Regions from separate parts of the Homo sapiens genome. Here region 2 is linked to region 1. The links are contacts of gene promoters, found by promoter capture Hi-C in blood cells and fetal thymus (Javierre and others, 2016). All regions are on one chromosome and are shown on one strand. Each heading gives the region's core, a stretch centred on a gene start or on the middle of the fragment in contact. The rest is flanking DNA. Distances are from core to core; before and after follow the strand shown.

What was found. Contacts are between HindIII fragments. The CHiCAGO score rates a contact against its expected background, and 5 or more counts as called.
Region 2: a fragment that was not itself captured here is called in contact with the fragment with the promoter of GLYATL3 in region 1 in 4 of 17 cell types (erythroblasts, M2 macrophages, megakaryocytes and 1 more); the score reaches 13.2 in erythroblasts.

Annotation. Positions count from the first base shown.
Region 1 is chr6:49,498,209-49,502,277 of GRCh38, reverse strand. GLYATL3 (glycine-N-acyltransferase like 3) reads right to left here and starts at 2,355. Exons shown (of 6, transcript NM_001010904.2): 1 at 2,236-2,355. The HindIII fragment of the contact is 14,834 bases long and covers 1-3,270 here.
Region 2 is chr6:49,866,383-49,870,451 of GRCh38, reverse strand. It overlaps CRISP1 (cysteine rich secretory protein 1), which reads left to right and starts at 3,917. Exons shown (of 8, transcript NM_001131.3): 1 at 3,917-4,023. The HindIII fragment of the contact is 540 bases long and covers 2,156-2,695 here.

The sequences.
Region 1 (4,069 bases), core at 1,106-3,605:
GGATCCACTATTGTTAATTTTGTTCTATGTATAATTTGTGCTATTGGTTTATTGTTCATATACAAAATTGGAAAAAATATTCTTCAATCCAATCATGATCAGTGCCAAGCTATGATTGCTATGGTTCATTTAAATCAGAGAAAAGGAGGAGATGTAGGGAGACCCCCTGAAACTATTGCTATGGAGTAAAAGATGAAATGCTCCTGATTATTGTAAATACAAAATTGCATGCAGGATTGTGTAAAGACAATGCCAGGTTGGACTGCCAGAATGAACCAATAGCACGTGATGTGCTTCCCCCTGCAGACAGCCTATGAATGGATGTGCATTCAGGGAGGTTTCACATCACCAAGATTCCTATCCCAGAAAAGCAGATGTTCATAGCTCTGGGAATGGAATGCGACCCTTGTGGATAGCCTATAAATGGACGAATGAGGGGTGCCTGTCCATATGGATAAGATAGGGCTATAACACGCTCATCTTGCCACAGCTCTTCTAGGCCTCTTTAGGGTTAAGACATATTTCCTTCTGAGGATTTCTGGTCTAACTAGTTGTCTAGCTTCACATCCTGTTTCTATGGATTGTTTGTAACCAGCTTTTGCTGCAACTGTTACTGCTGATTAATATCCTGCTAATCATAGGTTATGGAAAGACTGTGTTTCTGTTTTAAGGCTCTGTTAGAAATTACTGATGCACACACTATATTGTAAATTCTTATCTCTGTATACTGTACTTCTGCATACAGATATTATGTTAAAGAATTACTTCATCCCCATGTGACCATCTCACCTCATAATCAAATGACCCTAAATCCCTCACTAACCTACCGCTGCCCTCACTAAACTTAATAATAAATGCTGGTATAGTCAGTGCATTGGCGGCACCGCGGGACCTGCTTTCACTATCTTGTGTGAGTCTCTTATTTCTCGACCTGCCAATCCACCTAGGAACAAAGAGAGAGCCCCGTTGCATTGCGGGCTGCTGGCCAGCTCCCGCGATACACACCACCAACGCCTGGCTAGTTTTTTTTATATTTTTAGTAGAGATGGGGGGTTTCACCATGTTGGCTAGGCTGATCTCAAACTCCTGACCTCATGTGATCCACCTGCCTTGGCCCCCCAAAGTGCTGGGATTACAGGTGTGAGCCACCCTGCCTGGCCTCCAGCTTCTTAATAGCAAAACCTCTACTTAATTGGCTTCAACTTACCCTTCTAGACTATACTCATGCAACTCACAAATTACTCAGGGTGACAAACTAAAATCAGAGACATTCCCCCATGGGTTCATGCAGAGAGGACACTACAATTAATCTACATTTGACAATACCCTTTCAGTAAACAGTGATTCATTTCATAAGGATCTTTCATTAAATAGAAATTTTTTTAATGCCACAAGGTAGAGCAGAAATTCTCATTGATGCAGAAAATATTTTCTACACATTTTTGTAACATGTTAGAGAGTCATAATGACGATTAACTCTGAAAGCTACAAGAGCAGAATGTCATATCCTTACCACTTGATTAGTACTGTCCATAATCAGTATGTTCTGGAATTGGAAGTTAAAGGTTGGTAACTCCTTTAACCAAATTATAACCAATAGACTCACTGTTTGAAAGTATTTGTCAAGAAAAAGAATTATGCTCATGTAAGTTTTAGAAACTGAAGTTTCTTTGGGGGCATTTGAGTGTTTATAAGCACAGAGCAAGCATCTAAAATATTTTATTCATTAATATTTATCATAACAATGAAAGCATGACACTCTCCTGGGAGACTTTTAAGTCTTATAAGCAATAAAACATAAGATCTCTGTTTTTGTAATGTAATACAATATTTACAATATAATGGTGGGCATTTGTTAATGAGGAAATACATTTTTTTAAGCACTTGGAATCCAATGCTAGTAATTATTTTTCATATGTTAGGATTTTTGTTCAGAGAGGTTGCTCTAGTTGTGCCCATATCACAATGCAAACAAATTTATACTTGGTAATACTTATTTTCCTCACATCAAAATTTAAGAGTAAAAATTTTCCTCATATCAAAATTTAGGAGTTAAAAAAACCCCAAACAAAAACACGCCAAGAAACAAAACAAAATATATCTTTCCTTGAAACCTAATTACAATGTATTCGTTCTGTATAAGGTTGGATTTCATCTCTTCTCTATTTTTCCCATCCCTTTCTGCAATTATAAACTATGACTTGAAATGTATTATATTAATGAATAAATGTTTACCTGCTGGGAGTTCAGTCCAGAACTGAGGGTTTTCAGCTGTGTATCAGTCCAGTAGCCCTTTTATATAAATGGTAAGTTTATTCTTCAAGGCTACCTCTCTAATTAGCCCTTAGTGGAAACAGGAGGGAGAGAAAAAAAAAAAAGTGCCCACACCTGTAGACGGGGAGGAGTTTATGATGGTGATCAGGTGAAAATCATCTCACATAGAGCACAGGCATTTCCACTCCATCTCTTCCTTTTTATCACATTTAGCCTTATGGTGTAAAAGCCAATGAATACTAATCTTGATTTAGAGATAGGTATTTTCTAGCCATAAAACCTGTCTATTAATCAGTATCTCATGAAGGAGAATAAAAAGAAGAGGAGCCCAGGCAAATGGTAGTACGATAAGAAAGTAATATAAAGGTATTGACCCTTTAGTTATTTTTTTATATATTCTGAAGAAAATGATTTTGCTGCCCTAAACTTCCAAGGCTGAAAGGGGGTAATCTCTACAGAGGATACATAAGTACATGAGAGTAATTTCAAGAATTTTAATTACTTCAGCCTATTCTTTTAAATGAAAAGTCATTCAGAGTTTACTCACTTCTTTCAAAAGACTGCAATTTTAACCACCATGTAAGTATTTACTTGGACATCTCAGCACTCAATATCTACATCTTGAAATAATATGCAACACAAATGTCTCAACGGCATATGCAGAGTGCTTCAGTTTGAATGTGGTTAGATGGGAGGATTCTGTTTACCACATTTAGGTCTCATAAAATGGTAAGGTAGGGCATTCTTCACTAGAGGACACTGAGCTTTGTAATACAATGGGCAGCTAGTAGTTGACAGCAAATGGAGAAATTGTATTAGATGTCAATTACTAGATGTCAAAATAAGAGTTTTTGATCTTGCTGTATACATTGATAACTTCTTTTTTAAAAGATGTTACTGAGAACAAAGTATACCTACTCTTGGACCTAAGGAGCCTATATAAATATAGTTTTCTAAATATTAACTGAGTAAAATATATTTTTTAAAAGTTAAGCTTTTTTTTTATTTGCAAAACAGGAACTCCTTTAGACAGTAAGTGCAATATCCTAGGGGAAACTTTAAAAAGTTTGGGGTCTGGTTATTTATAAACTCTGAGACATGTAAAAGTCTCCCCAAATTTAGATTACGTCTTGTTTCCAAGTGCATTTAAAACAGAAATTTGAGCTCTTTGTTCTTTATAAAACATCAGAACTAATTGGAACTAATTTTTGCCTGAAGAAAAAAATAATAAAAAGGCAAAACATTCCTTTTCCTGGAAAGTATGGTTGAAGGTAATTAAATTTGAGATATGTATATATATTAGGCTAAGGCAAACTTTTAACTCTGAGATTAACGGAAAAAGGAGGAAAAAAGGAGATTCCCAATGTAAGATTAATTTAAAGGAATTGTCTTCTGAAAACCCAGGTGAACAAATCCGCAATACATATTATCACTTTACTCAGAAAAATACATCAGATTGTACTTTGCTGTAATAGGGGTTACTCATTAGATTCACTAGCCCCTTCTACTTGTAGTTTATCAGAAAACTCCTAAGAAAAGGTTCAATTATTTTTTCACTTCCTTGTTCTATCATTTACTATCTGTGTGATCTCAAGTTATTTAGCCTCCCTGTGCCGCAGTTTCTTCACCTGCAGGATGGAGATAATAATGAATGTTATGAGGTTTAATTCCCATAGGGTTTCCATTAAGATTAAACATTGGCATAAATACATGTATATAGGTAATGGCATTGGACTAGTACCTGGCATGTAGCAAGCACTCAATAAATGTCAGCCATTTTTCTCATTGCTATGAC
Region 2 (4,069 bases), core at 1,176-3,675, 370 kb before region 1:
CCCTCACTTTCCAACCTACAATAACTCCTGCTTTCTCTCACCCATTCAGGTTAGGAGTGACAAATTTACTACTACTGGTTACTCTATTGTCCATACTGGTATTATTACACCCTACCCTCAACTTTGGAAATTTCCATCATTAAACTCTCCCTCAATTACCCAGTTTGAGTATGTCATCTTTTTGTGTTGGCATCCTAGCTGACACAAATTCCAAATTAACTGTATCTAAATCTCTACAGTCATTTTTGAGAAAGATCCATGTGATTGCCAGACTTGGTATTGGTTAGGAAGTTTGTTTTTGTGACAGTGCAATTTATTTGTCTATCTTTCTTTCTTAGTCTGTTTGGCCTGTGATAATAAAATACCTTAGACTGGGTAATGTACAAAAAACAAAAATTTATTTCTCACAGTTCTGTAGGCTGGGAAGTCCAAGATCAAAGAGCTGTTAGATTTAAAGTCTGAGAAGGGACCTGTTCCTTATAGATGGCACCTTCTAGCTGCATCCTCACATGGCAAAAACGGCACAGGCACTCCCTTCAACCTTGTTTGGGTTTAGTACCCCTGGGATTAGTCCCCTTATAAACGAGATTGAAGGGAATGGAGCCCTTTTGACTTAGTCTTTCCCAAAAGGCCCTAACTCTTAACACAATCACATTAGGTATTAGGTTCCAACACATAAACTTTGAGGGGACACCAACATTTAGACCATAGTACCTTCCTTTTCCATTTAAATTTTTGGCATGATTTTTTAACACTTTTACTCCTGGGAAAGAAAGGATACTGTTTTCATACTTCCAGCTTTATACTGACATCTTTCTGTTAACTTGAGAGGAATCACAAGACTTTCCTCAAGTGAGCTGTAGAAAAAACTGAATTTAAAGTTAAAAAGAGGTTAGGGGTAGGAGTGTATGATGGCAACTTCCAGGATAGCTTCAATAATCCTTGCCTCCTGGTAGTTATGCTCTTGTGTGGTCTTCTTGTTAATCGAATTAGAGCTAGACTCTGTGAACAATAGAATATTAAAGTGTGTGACTTCTCACTCTATGTCATAAAAGGCATTGCAGCCTCTCCTGTGTTCTTGCATCATTTGCTCAGGGGTAGGTGACTGTCAAGTTATAAGGATAATCAGAAGCCCTGTGGAAAGGCCAATCTGGAGAGCAACTAGGGCTTCGCACCAACAAACAGCACCAACTTGCAAGTCATATAAGTAAATCAATTTGGAAGCAGGAAAGCCATCAGAGATATAAATGTCTGCAGCCTCAACTGACAACTGATTGCAATCAATGAGGCACCATAAACCAAATGTGCTCAGTCAAGCCATCCTTGAATTACTGATTCCCAGAAACCAAGAGACCACATTTATTGCTTTAAATCATTGAGCCTTGGGATTATTTATTATGAGAAGTAGACAACTAAAACAAAGTTGAATAGAAGGATAAATGTATATTGACTTTCATTCTGATTATGAAAGCTATAAATTGTAGAAGAAGAGGGGGGAAATTTCAAAGGGCCATTAATCTCCCAGGGTTCTTAAAATTCAAATTCAGAAACTGACTTTGGCTTTATTTTATGTGCAACATAAGTTTGAATTTGTTAAAGTCTAGAGTACTTTTTGGCCTGAGTTTCTGAGCAAGTCTGGAGTCATTGAGCCCTTGCAACATACAGGACTTTGAAGCATAAGCACAATTTTACTGAGTGGTATGAAGAAGCAATGAGACACAAATGGGATTGTTGTAGGTAAGAGTTCAGTCATGGAGAAAGTGAAGGGAAAGGAGAGGATGTCTGTGTCCAGTGGATAATTAGAATAAAGCCACAGCCAGAATATATGCAAAATTATTTTACAAATATGATTTTAAAATCACATTTAACACATGAATGCTTCCTTCAACATGTATTATATATCTGGGCTTTCTAAAATTTTTGTTAGCCAATCTCTGAGTAAATGATTGATTTAAAGTTTCTTTTAAAAATGGATATATTCAGACAAACATGATGTGATTGTAAACACATTAGCCTTTATCTATCTCTCAAGATTTTTCTGGGATAATCCAGTTAGAAATATTCTATCATGTTATGATATGCTAGATAAATGTGTCAGATTATTATTTTAGGGAAAAAAGTTATTGTAGATAGTTTCCTACTATGCTAAAAAGCTTAAACAGAAAGAGAACAATCTATGAAAATAGGAAATTTATGAACAGAAACAGCCAACTGGCACCCATGTTTGGGACTCACATGCAAATCAAGTTATTCCTTGCTTTCCAACACTTCCCAAATTCTTTTAAAACCATATATGAAGCTGGATAGCAACTCTATATGAAGACATCAGTGCTATAAATACAGACAGCATTGTGTTGGGTAGAGCAATGCCAGGAATTGCCAGGACCAACAGATAAAACCAGAGCAATTAAGTTTCCATAAACACTTGACTTGATGTTGAATCAACACTCTCCTTTATAAACAGCAGTTTAGCAAGAAATAAATGACAATTATACATTTCTAATATATAAACCATGCTGGTTTGGTGAAGTAATAGCATTCTTTTGCAGCTTTCTTTTTACAATGTAGTTTGTTGGAGAAAGTTGCTCAATAATTTGGAAGTGTTAATTTCAAGATCATGTAAAATTCTTTAAAGCCAATTAAAGTTAAGCTAAAGATAATTCATCTTATCTATGAAAGAGTTTACAGATAAGCTTTTCTATGTTTTTAGATTAACACCATCTCCCTCAACCAAAAGAGAAATTCTTCTAGGTATAGGTGAGCAATTTTTAGTGATGTTTAGTTCTCCTTTCCTGCAGATGGTTTTCTGGACATTCATTATATACTTTAACAAGACCAGAAAGTTCTATCTTAAGAGACTCTGATCTTTCTTTTAATTTTTATTTCCTAACCCTCACCCCAGAACTAACACAAAATAACTTATGACTACACAATTCTTACCTTATTTTTACTCTTTCCTTTTAGATATTCAATTGCCCTTTCTTAAGCAAGATACAAGAAAAATATTTTTTATTAAATAATAATGTATTCTTTCTTACAAAGAACAAAGACTTAATTCATAATTTTAAAAAGAGGCCAGCAAGCTATGACTTCAATATAAGCGACCATGCACTCACATATACAAACATTTCCCAACTTTTCAGAATAATAAGACAATTCAAAAACATCTGATTACACCTAGTTTCAGAGTAAATTTTCTATTCTCATATGTGATTTCTGTCTGTGTGATATTTCTTTCTTTGTTCTAAGTGTCCTGTGATATTTCTCATCATGTGACTCAAATGATTTCTGGAATTTTTAGTGTTTTACAATTTAGTGTTCAGTATTTCTAGACCTCTCAAGGTAGTTAGTTGCTTCCACATTGTTTCTGGACAAATCTCTATTAGAATTCTCCCAAATTGCAGAAGTTTTCCTTTTAACCAGGAAGGTCTTAGGAAAATGGACTACTTATCTTTTCATTCCCAGAGCCTCTCCAAGTATGTGACACATTATAGAACAGTTACCAAACTCCATAAGATTGTGTAGTTTATATGTTTGGTGATTCTATGTATCCTCAGCATCTAGAAGAGAGCATAAATCATCTTAAGACCTCAATAAATAATTACTGAATGAATTTAATAAAGTTGAGAAGTTTCTGGACCAGCAAGTCATTTTCCCTTACAGTGACCTTTGTTATCTGATTGTGGCTCTGCTGAATCATGCAACTAATCTTTGCAGTTAGTTCCCAGGGTAAAAGTTTAAAATTGGTGAGTTCCATTGATGATGTTGCCTTGGTTACAAACTAGAAATGTCCCCATAATCATGATTTGTAATCTTCACAGACTCTAGATTTGTTCTGATTATCATGTATTCATGCCTGGTGTCCACCGTAAATCCCTTGATCTGTTATAGGCATTTACCTTGTACTGACTACCTCATTGAACAAATCTCCCCTGTGGACTGTCATTTAAAAGCACAAATACACTACATAGAGAAAGGCTTGGTTCTTATCAGGACACAAATTTAAAGGCTGTGTGGACTTGGGTAAGTTATATAATATCTTTGTCAGTTTCTTTATTTGAAAATAAGA